5 separate regions of the Homo sapiens genome follow, and all the other regions are linked to region 1. The links are contacts of gene promoters, found by promoter capture Hi-C in human tissues and cell types (Jung and others, 2019). All regions are on one chromosome and are shown on one strand. The core of a region is centred on a gene start or on the middle of the fragment in contact, and the rest is flanking DNA. Distances in the headings are between cores, read along the strand shown.

Region 1 (2,700 bases), core at 29-2,528:
ACCCACTGCCCTGCATTCCATCATCCCAGGGCGGCCGGCTGGGGGTGGCCAGGACCTCAACAGGCCTCCTTTGTCCTGGCTCTGCCGTCACCCGGCACAACTGGAACCAGAGCAGCCTTGTCTGGGGCCCTGGGCTCGGGGCCCGTTCATCTGTGAGAGTGGAGCCAGGACTCAGCTCCCAGCCACCAGCGAGTCCTGCCGGCCTCTGCCCTGGACTCCTCCTGCGCTCACCCTCAGGAACTCAGGGCTCAAAGTCGGCCGGGTTGAAGGGCGCTTTCCTCGGACAGGCAAAGCCCGGGGGCGCCCCGACAGAGCAGCTCCTTGCAGGGGTGCCAGTCACAGGACCGGACGGCGCCCTCCCTCAGTGTCCTGGGTGCCATCTTCGGGCCCAGGCCCCACACCACCCCCTCCCTCCAGCAGGAGCAAAGACGTGGGAAAACCAGCCCAGAGCTGGGTCCGAGGCGGCCCCACCCAGCCTAACACGGGACAGCTGCCGAAAGAGGGGCTGAGGACGCCCCACCCAGTCCCTAGAGCTGGAATCCCTTCCTCCAGACAGGCCCTTCTAAGCTCAGGGAACCCGGGGACTCGGGCACCCAGCGCCCCAGCACTCCGCCCCGAGGCCCAGGCAAGTCCAGCGGAGTTTCCAGGCGCACCATTCCTGAGCTAGGTGGGGAGAGGCTGGGTGGCGCCCGTTTCCAGGAACCCCCACCCCAGCCGGCAGCGAGCTTCCCGGGAGCAGCCGCTACCCAGGGAGAACCGCAACCTGGCCCCAGAGCCCAGAGCGGCTGCAACTCTGGGGCCACCGAACCCGTCCAGCCGGCCTCCCTGTCCCCCGCCCCTTCCCATCCCGGCCACACCCCCTCCCCTCCCCTCCCCGTGCCCTGGCGCTCGGCTGGGGGACCTGGGTGGGGGCTGCGGATTTTGCTCCCCGCACTGTCCTCCCCGCCCCTGCCGCTCCCAGCTCTGTCCGAGCCGGAGGGTCAAGCCCTGGGAGCTCCAGGAGCACCCGGGGAGGGAACTCGGCTGCCAAATGGCCCCAGAGGCCGAAAGGAATTCAGGGGGGATTGCCGCTGTCCCCGCATAGGAGAAGCAGCTGGGGCTGGCGGGACCCGGGACCGGGATCGCGGCCGCTCACCTGGGAGGCGCCGGGGAGGAGGGGCCGCGCGCGCAGCCAGGGCTCACCTGTGCCCCGCAAGAGCCGCCGGGAACTGAGGTCTCGGCTCTCCTTGCCAAGGGAGTGGCAAAGGGCCCCAGGGGCGACTGGGCCAGTCGCAGGTCTGCCGGGGCCGGGGGAGTAGCCGCACCTCCCGGCCCACGTGGGCGGGGGGGGGGGGGGCGGGCCTCGGCTATCACGTGACCCGGCCCGGCCCGCGGCGCCCCCGCCCTCCTCCGGGCGCCCCGCGGCGACTATGCCTTCCTCCCCTGCCAACTTCCGACCCCTCCTCCTGAGGTCTGAGCTGGGCTGGATTCATTCCAGCCCCTGGTTGAAGTCCCCAATTTTTCTGACGCTCAGTTTCCCCAAGTTCCAAAAAGGGGCAATATTTCCAGACTCATCTGCTTCCCATGGTTAGGGATCGTCCAAGTAAGATGCCGCCGAAAGCCCCAGGGACACAGAGTATCTCACTCCAGATTGGGCAGCGCCCCCCCCCCCGCCGCCCCCGCAAGCCTCCTGCTGACTCTCCCCGACCCCGGCGGGGGGAGCCTGGTTATCTCCCACTCCTGACACCTGGGCGGGGTTCATTGTTTATCTAGCAAGAGTTCTGGCTCACTTCCTGTGTGCTGTGTGGAGAGGAGGGGATGAAAAGGAGGACACGCTGACACTTAGGTGACTGTCCCCAGGTGCTGTACCCGTTGCCCTGTTTTCTGTTATTCCCCATGAGCCAGGAAGGTATGCACTGATATTCCCATTTCACAGATGAGGAAACTGAGGCTGAGAGAAGTTAATCACCCTTTAGGGTGCCCCCAGCCAAAGCAGGAGACTTAGTGGTCCACCTGGGAACTCTATGGAGGAAACTGCCTTTGAGATTGTACCCCCCACCCCAAGCCCATTTGGAAGGGAGGGTCATTCCTGGCGGGGAGAAGCCATGAAGCAGGCAGGGTGAATGTGAGCTGGGGCCCAGGAGGGCAGGAGAGGGCACTGCTGCAGGGGAGAGCAGGCAAGCAAAAGCGAGGACCAGGCAGGGGTCAAGGCTGGGGCCTTTTGGAGCTGCCAGTGTGGTCCTCAGATGGCTACCCCAAGCTGGTTCTTGGCAAGTGGCACCCTGGCATGGAGACCCAGCCCCTGCCTCTCCTCCCACTGCTTCCCCCTCCCTGCATACCCACACTGAATTTGCATGAATGCCACCTCCTCTGGGGAGCCTCCCCAGATTGAACCCTGGTGGAGCACCTACCACTTCCTATTGACATGTACATCTGTGGTTCTGTGCCCCCTCCTACCCCAGCCCACTGTGTGCCCAGCACCAGCACATAGCTTGCGCCTGACACACAGAAAGGACTCTGGAAACCAGGAAGGAGGTGGGCAGAGAGGCAGAAAAGCTATGAACATTCAGACCTGAGATGACTGGGCCCTATAGCAGGTAGAGAGGGAGCAGAGAGGAAGGGCTGCGGGCTTCCCAGGGGCCCAAGGACAGAGAATTGGCAAAGATATGTCTTAAACATCTAGCCTGGGAGAGCATGAATGGAGCCAATTCCTGAGCACTT
Region 2 (2,700 bases), core at 43-2,542, 140 kb after region 1:
ATGACTCCAGGTATCTCCCGACATGAGCACATGTATCTGCAAATGAGGCGGGGGTCAGGAAGCACAGGGAGCTTGCTCTTGCCCCGGGGGCCTAGGATGCCCTGGGCTGTCATCATTCCACACTCACCCCTGACCTGCTCCTGCTCGCTCAGGGAGGCTGCCTTACAGGGAGGTATCAGTGGCTCCCTCATCCTCTGCCTCTGTGGAGCCCACAGTGGGAGGCACCTGCAGAACATGGGGGTGGGGGACAGTGCAGTTGGGGGCGTGGGTGTTCCTTCCTCTATCTGCCTCCCTCACAGAGTTGTGATCAAGCGAGTTGTAGAGAAACGCCACTCTCTGAGACGAATTCAGGCTAGTGCTCAAAATTCTCTCCACCCCAAAGAAGGGGCTAGATTTTCTTTTATACTTTGTTTTAGAAAGGGGCGGTGGGGGGAGTCTAGTTAAAACAATCTTACAGAAGCAAAGCAGACAAAAAAGTTAAAAGGATAAATGGTTACGGGAAAGCAAACAGTTCCAGGTGCAGGGGCTTTAAATGTATTACAAGGTGATAGACGCGGGGCTTTGAGTGTTATCAACCGGATACAAACGCGGGGACTCTGGGTGCTATCAACCGGGCGAATTCCTAGGAACTGCGGATATAACTTGCCACAGTATCTTATCAGTTAATTGCATCCTTGGATGTGCTGGCAGTCTGCTTGCACAAGTTAAGTCCTTGAGGAAGGGGGTGGGTAAGGGGCTGTAAGTGAAGGAGCCAAGATGGAGTCTGTCTGGCTCTCTCAGCTAAGGGAGAGTCAATTCAGGTTAAAACAAGGTTGGGTATCACAATAGCCCTCTCCATGCCTCTCTGTCCAGGGCTGGGATTGGTTGGCATACTCTGCATGCCTTTCCCCAGCCCTCCAGCTGTCCTAGAGTTGGGCTGGGATAACCCTCCAGCCGCCCTGTGAGTTGCACTGGGATCAGTCAGGTGTACTCTGCATGCCTCACCCCAGCCCCCGAGCCGTCCCGTGGGTTGGAGTTGTTTGCGTCACTGGCTTTCTGTTCTCAGCTGACTTAGCTGGGACGTCAACAACTCCCTATGTCAGAGGCAAGTCTCCGCCTGCATCTGCCAGAGCTCCACACAGCTGCAGACACCTGTGGCTTCATCTGAGTCCTCATCTCGGCCTCTGGGAACCACTCCTTCCTACCCTTTGCCTGGAGACAGTGGAAGCCGAGGGACATTTCTCCGAATGGCGTTCACTTGGCTCCAGAAATGAGAACTGGAATGAGGAAGAGGAATCAGTCTCCCTCCAGGTGGCTGAAGCTAGGCACGTGGAACCTGGGAGCAGCGGGCAGCCACACTGGTGCCCTTCAGACAGCAGGAGGGGGCTCTTGTCCGAAGCTCTGAGTTCAAAACAGAGGGGACATGGGGGAACAGCAGGAGGTAGGATCAGGCCCCCCAACTCCTGCCGAGAGCTCACACCTGTCTTCAGCCCCTCCTGCATTCCTGCCAGTGGTAGCCATTTGCCCTTTTGGTTGCCTGGTGTCCAAATACCCTTTCTACGTTGGAGGTAGGGTCCTGGGGGTCCCTGCTCCCTTTCCCAGGCTCTGAAAACTGACTCCTGGGAATGTGACCAAAATGATTACATTAAATGCTTCCACCTGAATGTTTAATCGTGAAGATGAGATGCCAAGTTCAAGAGTAATTTAGGGGCCAGGTGTGGTGGCTTGCGCCTGTAACCCCAGCATTTTGGGAGGCCGAGGCAGGTGGATCACTGGAGACCAGGAGTTTGAGACAAGCCTGGCCAATATGGTGAAACCCTGTGTCTACTAAAAATGCAAAAATTAGTCAGGTGTGGTGGTGCACACCTATAATCCCAGCTACTCGGGAGGCTGAGACAGGAGAATCGCTTGAACCTGGGAGGTGGAGGTTGCAGTGAGCCAAGATCAGGTCACTGCACTCCAGCCTGGGCGACACAGCAAGACTCTGTCTCAAAAAAAAATAAAAAATAAAAAAAGAGTAATTTAGGATTGTTCCCAAGGGTTGTGGTAGAGCCAGACAGCACTGTGTCACAGCATGCAGTGAGTATCCAGCCTCGATACCCTATGCAGCCCATTCTATGCTAACGGTTACCCCCACTGAATTCCTTTTCTGCATAGGTTAACCAGAGTGCCACTGTCAGTCACAATACTGACTAGTGGCTTCTCTTGGGTTTCCTGAGAAACTCCCTATATCAGTTAGTGAGTGCCATAATCAGGCTGTGTAACAAGCAGCCCCGCAATCCTGGTGGCATTCTACAATAAGCATTTGTTTTGCTCACATCTCTGTGGGTCTGTGGGGGTTCACCAGATCCAGGCTTGGATTAGCTGGCTGGCGTCTGGGCTGTGAGTTGGGTCCAGGTTTGCTTCACATGTTTCTTATCAACCTCGGCCCAGCAAGCTACCTGAGGCGTGTTCCTTCCAGGGTGACTTCAGCAGTGAAAGAGAGCAAGTTCATTGTGCAAGCACAGTTCAAGTCTACTCACTCCATATCCCCTGACATCCCACTGATCAAAGCAAGTCCCATAGCTATGCCCCAAGTCAAGGATGTGAATGCATAATTCTACTACAAGGGAGTGAAGAAGCAGGACTGATCATTCCATCCTCCCCTTATTTGTTTTTAGTTTTTATTATGAAAAAAAAAATTTTTTTTTGAGACCGAGTCTTGTTCTGTCGCCCAGGCTG
Region 3 (2,865 bases), core at 81-2,580, 160 kb after region 1:
TCGGCCTCCCAAAGTGCTGGGATTACAGGCGTAAGCCACCGCGCCCAGCCAACTTTAGCCATTTTTAAGTGTTTCAATTCAGTGGCAGTAAGTATCTTCACATCGTTGTGTGACCAAGTGTCAGAGGTGACGTGGGCTGTCCAGGACACATGACTGGTGGGAACTACAGGGTCCCCGTCCTGGTCCTCACACCGCTGTTGGCCCTGGACAAGGTATGTCTTCTGAGTGCGACCAGAGGCCCAGAGAGCACGGGATTGGCTGCGGTTGCCAGTGCCTGGGGCAGTTCCCGCTAATGCCATCGTCCTGGGGATCCCCTTGAGTCCCCTGCTCCTGCTTCTTAGTTTGCTGCACCCCAGAGGGTGACTGGGACCCCCATGCCTGGGACACTGGTTGCATAGGCAGCTTCCAGGGCCACCCCAGACCTCCCAGCTCAGAGTCCTGGGGCCTGGGGCTGTGAGTTAATCAGTGTCCAGGCAACCAGGGATGCCACAAGAAGTCAGGAAGTTTCCAGACTTGCCTGGTCTCAGAATTATCTAAGCTCCTTTTTTTATTTTTTTTTTTTTAAGACAGGGTCTCGCTCTGTTGCCCAGGCTGGAGTGCAGTGGTGGGATTTTGGCTCACTGCAGTCTCAACCTCCAGGGTTCAAGTGATTCTTTCACCTCAGCCTCCCAAGTAGCTAGGACCACAGGCGTGTACCACCATGCCCCAGCTAAGTTTTTAAATATTTTGCTGAGACAGATCTTGCCATGTTGCCCAGGCTGGTCTTGAACTTCTGGGCTCAAGCGATCCTCCCAACTTGGCCTCCCAAAGAGCTGGGATTACAGGTGTGAGCCACTGCGCCCGGCCCATCTGAGCTACTTTTAGAAGTATAGGTTCTCTGGCTTCTCTCCAGCTGAGACCAAACCACCTCTGAATCTATTGTTAAGAGGTACAAGGGGCTTGTGATACAAAAGTGGCAAAGCTGGACAGGCACAGTGGCTCATGCCTGTAATCCTAGCACTTTGGGAGGTTGAGGTGGGCCGATCACTTGAGGTCAGAAGTTCAAGGCCAGTCTGGCCAACATGGTGAAACCCTGTCTCTGCTAAAAATACAAAAATTAGCCTGGCATGGTGGTGCGTGCCTGTAGTCCCAGCTACTCGGGAGGCTGGGACAGGAGAATCACTTGAACCTGGGAGGCGGAGGTTGCAGTGAGCTGAGATCATGCTGCTGCACTCCAGCCTGGGCAACAGAACAAGACTCTGTCTCAAAACAAAACAAAACAAAAACAAAAACAAACCTGCAAGGCTGTCGGTTCATGCGCTCATTCCTTCACTCATTACTGCAGTCCTACTCTGTGTATTCATTATTGCAGTCCTACTGTGTGTGCCTCACCTCTGCAGCCGGATCCTGCCCCAGCCCCAGGCATGAAGGCATGGAGCCCCTGCCTGTGCACGTCCTTCTTCCTGGGCTACCCTGCCTCTCCCCTTGTGCCTGACATTGAGGGCTGTGAGACCTCCTACTCGTCACCCCTCAGCCAGCTCTGTTTGGCCCCCCAAAAGCCTTGGGACCTCCTCGGGTCCTGGACGTGGGACTGGCTCTGATTCTAGCCTCTGGGCTGGGCTGCTGCTGACAAGTGTTCAGCTCCTGCTGCTCAGATGAATGAAGGGACAGAAGGCGGGTGTCTAGGCATGGCCGGGACCTGGGATTCTATTTTTTTTTTTTTTTTTTGAGATGGAGTTTCGCTTTTGTCGCCCAGGCTGGAGTGCAGTGGTGCGATCTTGGCTTACTGCAACCTCTGCTTCCAGGGTTCAAGCGATTCTTCTGCCTCAGTCTCCCTAGTAGTTGGGATTACAGGCGTGCACCACCAAGCCCAGCTAATTTTGTATTTTTAGTAGAGACGGGGTTTCTCCACGTTGGTCAGGCTGGTCTCAAACTCCCGACCTCAGATGATCCGCCTGCCTCGGCCTCCCAAAGTGCTGGGATTACAGGTGTGAGCCACCATGCCCAACCCCCCAGCCAGGACGGGAACTTCTTAGGATCCGGCTGCAGCCCAGGGCAGAGGAGTTCCCGCGGCTTCCTCCAGTGAGTTAAGTCAGGCCTGAGTGAGCATCTACTCTTTCTGGGCCGCTAGAGGGAGACCTTCGCAGCCTCGTACTTGGCTCAAGACACCAGGCTAAGGGGTGTCAGTGTGTGTGAGTGTATGTGTGTGTGTGAGTATGTGTTTTGTGTGTGTGTGAGTGGCGTGTGTGTGTTGAGTGTGAGTGTGTGAATGAGTGTGTGTGTGTTTTGTGTGTGAGTGCGAGTGTGTTTGTGTGTTGAGTGTAAGTGTGAATGAGTGTGTGTGTTGTGTGTGTAAGTGCGAGTGTAAGTGTGTGTGAGAGAGAGTGTGTGTGTCCTACCTGGGCATGCACGGGTGGGTGTGGGCAGTGACCTGAGCCCTGCACGTACTGCCAGGTGGCCCGGCTTGCCAAAGGTGGGGAAGGGTTATTTACCCAAAGTGGGAGAGACCTGCAGGCTGGGCGGCAGCGGCAGGAAGAACAGCGAGCGAGGCCACAGTGGCATCCATGGAAGATGTTATTTGGGGCCTTTTCCGTGCCTGCTACTGTTCTTCGCATCCTGCGTGTATCACGAGAAGCAATCCTATCAAAGGAGGACCTATGAATACAATATCCACTTTACAGAGGAAGAAACTGAGGCTCAGAGAGGCTGAGTCACTTCCAGAGCTGAGATTTGAACCCAGGGAGTGGGGGCTGGGGCCTGGGCTCCACAGCACAAAGGAGCCCTGCCTGCTGGGACAAGGAGCTGCCTTGTGGTATGGCCAGTGTGCCCAAGCCAGCCTTTGGAGCCCGCTGGGCTGGCTCTGGGTTCCAGCTCTGCCGCCTGCCT
Region 4 (2,854 bases), core at 273-2,772, 160 kb before region 1:
AGGGTTTATTGTGCAAAGGTGATACTTAAGATTTTATAAGAAAGAAAATCGTTTGGCTGTGAACTCTAGGCTGTCCCGTATACCAAAGTAAAACACATGGGACAATTAAGATTTGGGGATAGAGCAAGCAAAGATTACCAAGAGCAACTGAAGCTGGTGGAGAAGGCACAAGAAATGGAGAGGAGGAGACAGGAACAGATTTATAGACGTCCTTGGAGCTGGCAGAAGGATAGGTTGAGGGAGCAGGAGGCGGAGTCCTGAACAGACTGAGCGTGAAAGGGTCTATATAAGCTGGGAAGAACCAGGTAACTTTATGTTTGTTTTGTTTTTGTTATCTTCCGTTGAACTTGTTTTGGCTTCTTTCTCATAATTTTAAGACATGGGTTTTTACCTTTTCTCCAGCTCTATCTCAGAGGGTCTTCAAATATTTTAGGTGAGAAGTAAGGAAATATTTTGAAGTGTTGGTGACACAGTCTTTGGTCTCTCTTGCATGACAACTGGTCCCAGTGAAGGTGACTGGATTTTAGTTACTTTAGATAGTTAACATCTTAATATTTTGTTTGAAGATGTCATAGATTTGAGTAGGGACAGCAAAATATCAGGTGAGAAGTGGCTCCTATTTTGTAGGGGGTAGATTGTACAGGTTTTCTTGCTTTTACTCAGTCTATGGCTATCCAAATTTATACAAATGAGTTTTTAAATAATTGTGTGGTCACGAGGAGAGCATTCTTTATAAAATGATATACAATAAGCTTTCTTTAAATAGACTTTAATGCAGTGGAGTCCATTTATAAATTTTCAGCTTATACATAACTTTTTAGGAATATAATTACTTAAAAATGTAAAGGTTACTTGTCAGAAATAACTATATAACCTTGTGCAGAAAGTGTATATCTGAAATTGAAACTGAGAAATGTATAATCTTAGCCAGTGAACTTGTTTGAATAACCCGATTAAAATAATGGTACAGTTTCCTATTGTACAGATCGTGCATTTGAAATGTTAATTTATTTAATGAAAAGTAAATTATGTAATTTTAAAAAATCTCCACCTGGGATATATATAACAAGGTTTTACATGTTTAAAACATGCTGAAAATCCATATCGTTTGTTCCATTTTTGGAGTTTTACTAAAAATGAATTCTTTTCTTAGCTTTAGATGTTTTCAGAGAATGAAGAAGCTATTGCAGGAATGGAGAGCTGTTTGTTAAGAATGCATTCCTCCTCTGTAGCCTTCAAAAGACTATAGAGCTGTGTGCAGAGCTAGACAATCTGGGCATCCAGCCATAAAACATCACTGCTGTAGCACAGATAGTTGTTCGCACTCTCCTGAGCCCTCTGTGGCTGCAAACCACAACAGAAGTAATGGTCTTGGGAAAGGAACACTCAATGTTATTTTGAACTCTTAATATTCTCTGTGTCTCTCTGAGTTCCAGCTATGCATTGGAACTTTGGTTTTCTAAAATATAGTAGTGATTAAGGATGAGCAATAATATAGCTTCTTAAGTATATTCCTCTTGTAAGCCAGTGGATTTAAATGTTTGCTCTAGGAAATAAGGGGTGTCTAGGAAATAAGAGTTGTCTGTCCCACCATCTTCCTCTTTATTTGCCTCTTTGTTGCAATACTTCTTTTCTGTTGGAGAACCACTGCCCTAAGACCCATATGATCACTGGGCCACACACAGTGCACATGGCCCAAAGAGTCATCTGGAATCTTCCAGATATTTTGTGGGATGGATTGGTCTAATTTGGCCCAGTTTCCACTTTCTCATGAACCTTTTTGGCATAACAAATTTTTAATTTTTTTGCACAAAAATGAAGAAGAGTGTGACTGGCATCTATTTGTATAAATCCAAATGGTTTACTCTGAAGACCCTCTCTGTTTTTCTTCTTCAGACCATTTTAGAAATTAATACTCTATTGTATCTTTATAACTTCCTTCTCTGAAGGATTGAACTACAAACCTATAGTATCACAGTGTCAAGTTGAATTATTCTCAGCAGTTGGATAACTCTTGTCTGTGGTTGAGTCCTTTACTAATGTGCAGACTGTCTTTTGACGTGGCTAATACCAGATGCAAGTTGGTGCCCAGGTGGTTATTGGGAATATGTGCTTTGTTTGATTCATTTTATGTGTGCCTTCTAGCTTATTAAGAATAAGATCTCTCACAGCTAAAATCAAGTGCTTGGTTTGAGCCTGGCAAAGATATTGTTTACTTTTTTATTCCCAAAGATCATTTCTTTTTAATTACTCTTTTAGGAAGCAGGGAAAATCTCAGTGAAAATAGCAACTGGGAATTAAACTAAGATCTGAAACTGGGAAATGGCAACGCGGGCACAGGTGTCACCTTTCCAACTGTTGTTGAGATGATGTGGACAACGGTTATTCAGAAATTACAGTGGGGAGGAGGGAGATGCACAAGTATTTTTTCTCATACTCCATATGAAATATGAAGTGCAGAGTGAGGGGCCCAGAGTGTAGGGAGGGAATTTAATAGGCTTTGTTCTTCAGGGGGCTATGGCTGATGTCTTAAACAAGGTCTTTTTTGGTAGGGAGGCACAGTAAGGGAAGAAGGTGATGGATTTGTGGGAACAAGTACATTTGAGTCACTGAGGACAATTGGGAATTGTGAAGTGGGAGTGGACGAGGTTAGAAAGCATCCTTAGGTAACCAGATCTCCATTTAAAACTAATCTGAGCATTTACAATGTGATTATGTGCCAAGGACATGAGTTTATCTTATTTAATCCTCACAACACTCCTGTGAAGTGGTTGCTTTTAACATTCCCATTTTACAGATGAGCAAAGGGAGTAATTTCCACAAGATCCTATAGCTTATAGGAGATGAAGCCAGA
Region 5 (2,700 bases), core at 33-2,532, 250 kb before region 1:
GTTTTCACAAGCCAAAAAAAAAATGTGTCATCAGAGATTCCACCAGAACAACTTTAATGGCTTGATGGGGATAGACCCCTAACCAAGAGGGATAAAGCATGAACAAGCATGTGTATTGTGTGCACATAGGCATGTGTGCAGGGAGGAGAGACAGTGTTTAGAAGGGCTTCGTTGAGGAACTTGACTTTGGAAGGATTGCTCATTTCCCTTCACTATTTAAAAGGTCCCATCTTTGCCAGGTCTCAGGCAAATTTCCTACCAGGAAAAGCCCACCCACAGCTTGAGAAAGCGGCTTCATCAAAGATCTTGACCCTGTGATCAAGCAGTCTCAGAGCCTTAGGCAGGGAGCAGCAGCCTCAGGCCCCAGTCCCAGCCCTTCTACTTAAATTATTGGGTCTCAGTTGGAAACAGTGGCTCACGACTATAATCCCAGCACTTTGGGAGGCTAAGGCAGGTGGATCGCTTGAGGTCAGGAGTTCAAGTCCAGCCTGGTCAACATGGTGAAACCCTGTCTCTACTAAAAATACAAAAATTAGCCAGGCATGGTGGCACACGCCTGTAATCCCAGCTACTCGGAAGGTTGAGGCATGAGAATCACTTGAACCAGAAAGGTGGAGATTTCAGCGAGCTGAGATCGCACCACTGCACTCCAGCCTGGGTGACAAAGCGAGACTCTGTCTCAAAAAAAAAAAAAAAAAATTGGGTCTCAATTTCCTCCTCTCCAATGCAGGGTTAATGGCACTTCGCCTGCCAATTTCTCAGGGCCATTGCTGGAAAGAAATAAAATGAAGGATATAAAAACTATCAAGGCAAAGGCTAATGTAAAAGATTCTTCTGATTCCTACTCAAAGGGAGGAGGAGGTTGAGGGAGGAGGAGGTTGAGGTCCAACCAGAAGCTGGCGGCCTCCTGAAGTTTCGACAGCACACTTCTCTAAAAGCAAGCTTAGGAAGATCAAGGCACCCACAGGGCTTTGAATCTCACTAGCAACCTCTGGCAACCCTTCCATTCTGCTCAGATTGACATTGTGCTAAAGAGCCTGCCTTTGGCCCCTTTGAGGGCTTCTTGGATTTGCAGGGAAAGTTAGGGACTGCTTCTGTGACCAAAATCAGAAGCCATTTCTACAGCACCTGCTAGAAGAGCTGGCTTCCCTCTCTGTCTAACATAATCCCATTTTCTGCCTCCAACATCTATGGCTTGAAATCTGTGCTGCCTTATGGCATGGAGGAGAGAGCACCAGAAAATGAGCCTAAAAAGTCAGAAGTTCAAAAAAGAGAAACAGAAAACATTAGCACCTTTATCCTACTGACCTGCAGGCAGCATCCTGCACCAGGACTGTGAGGAAGCCAAGAGAAGCCGAGAGCAGGCATAAGATGCAAAACAGAGTAAAATAAATAAAAGTCACGCATCGTGTTAGGGAGAGGGTCCACGTGGCCGACCAATGGCAGCAGACAGCCCCTCCTGACAGCTGCAGCTTTAGGGGGCCTTCAGAGTGGTTTCCATGGCACCCGTGCCTTCATAATCCTCACCCAAGCGGCTCTCCTTCAGCTCACCTTGCGTCACCAAGCTGGAGGAGAAATGAAGTAAGTGTGACAAATATGCTGATATCCAGAGAGAAAGAGAAGGTGGGGGAAGGAGGGAGGCAAGCCCAGGGGCTTCCTCCAGGGCAAGTGGCTGGGGTCCCTGCCTGGGGCTCTGAGGGCATTTCTGGGGGACCAGGCCTAACCAAACTCTGATTTAGAAAAATCCAGGGACTCAAATACCCAAACAGTTTGGAGAGAAAGGTGATCTGAGCTCCTGTGGGCAGATGGTCGGGCCTTACACAGCAGGTCCCTGGGAACACAGAACCCTGGGGCACCAGGCTCCATGGCCACCACGGTCAGGTCTTATTGTGCTCACTCCCCTCCAGGCCCCTGGCAGAAAGTTCAGCCTTTATCTCCACGCTGGCATATAAGCTGTGTGGCCTGCATTCACCGTGTGACCTCGCAAAGCCTGTGCTCATCTCTCTGAAAAAATACTGGGTTGTCCTGAATATTGAAAATCCTATATTTAGATGTTCCCAGCTCATGCCTAGGACATAGAAGGATTGCAGACAGCTGCAGATTTTTAATATACCCATTTCGTTGAAGTACAATTCACATGCAATAAAACTCACTAATTTTAAGTATACCATTTGATGGATTTCAACATGTATATGTAGTCATGGAGCCACCACCCAATCGAGATAGAGAATGTCTCTATGATGCAGAAAAGTCCCTCCTGGCCCTCTGCAGTCAATCTTCTCCCCCCATCTTGGCCCCAAGCAACCACTGATGGATTTTCTGTCCCTAAAGCTCTGCCTTTTCCAGAATGTCATATATACAGAGGCCTCTGTGTCTGGCTTCCTTCACTTCGCACAATGCTTTCAAGGCTCACCCACATTGCTGCATGTACCAGTAGCTCCTTCCTTTTCCCTGCTGGATAGCATTCCATCCTTTGGATTAAACAGAAACTTTCTTGCGTGTGTGTGTGTGTATGTGTATGAGACTGGGTCTTGCTCTGTTGCCCAGACTGGAGTGTAGTGGCCTGATCATAGCTCACTGCAGCCTCGGCCTCCTAGACTCAAGCAATCCTGTTGCATCAGCCTCCCGAGTAGCTGGGACTGCAGGTGTGCACCACCATGCCCAGCTAAATTTTTTTATTTATTGTATTTTATTTCCTGT

The links. The method cuts DNA at HindIII sites, captures the fragments that hold promoters and counts their contacts. A contact is called where the count stands out against the background at its distance.
Region 2: a fragment that was not itself captured here is called in contact with the fragment with the promoter of TMC6 in region 1 in 2 of the 25 tissues and cell types used here (dorsolateral prefrontal cortex and lymphoblastoid cells).
Region 3: a fragment that was not itself captured here is called in contact with the fragment with the promoter of TMC6 in region 1 in 1 of the 25 tissues and cell types used here (lymphoblastoid cells).
Region 4: a contact is called between a fragment that was not itself captured here and the fragment with the promoter of TMC6 in region 1, in 2 of the 25 tissues and cell types used here (aorta and hippocampus).
Region 5: a contact is called between a fragment that was not itself captured here and the fragment with the promoter of TMC6 in region 1, in 1 of the 25 tissues and cell types used here (liver).

What each region holds. Positions count from the first base shown.
Region 1 is chr17:78,127,477-78,130,176 of GRCh38, forward strand. It overlaps TMC6 (transmembrane channel like 6), which reads right to left and starts at 1,279. Exons shown (of 20, transcript NM_001127198.5): 1 at 1,136-1,279. RefSeq lists an enhancer at 1-162 and a silencer at 843-1,372. The HindIII fragment of the contact is 22,186 bases long and covers 1-2,700 here.
Region 2 is chr17:78,271,743-78,274,442 of GRCh38, forward strand. LINC01993 (long intergenic non-protein coding RNA 1993) reads right to left here. Exons shown (of 7, transcript NR_073178.1): 2 at 1-225. Among named protein-coding and RNA genes, the nearest start is that of LINC01993, 5.4 kb to the right of the region's middle. RefSeq lists an enhancer at 490-1,179. The HindIII fragment of the contact is 5,166 bases long and covers 1-2,700 here.
Region 3 is chr17:78,287,852-78,290,716 of GRCh38, forward strand. No RefSeq gene overlaps it. Among named protein-coding and RNA genes, the nearest start is that of LINC01993, 11 kb to the left of the region's middle. RefSeq lists an enhancer at 1-308. The HindIII fragment of the contact is 5,194 bases long and covers 1-2,865 here.
Region 4 is chr17:77,962,354-77,965,207 of GRCh38, forward strand. The region is part of intron 1 of TNRC6C (trinucleotide repeat containing adaptor 6C); the gene reads left to right. Among named protein-coding and RNA genes, the nearest start is that of TNRC6C, 5.1 kb to the left of the region's middle. The HindIII fragment of the contact is 3,556 bases long and covers 1-2,854 here.
Region 5 is chr17:77,876,295-77,878,994 of GRCh38, forward strand. No RefSeq gene overlaps it. Among named protein-coding and RNA genes, the nearest start is that of LINC01973, 6.4 kb to the right of the region's middle. The HindIII fragment of the contact is 3,702 bases long and covers 1-2,700 here.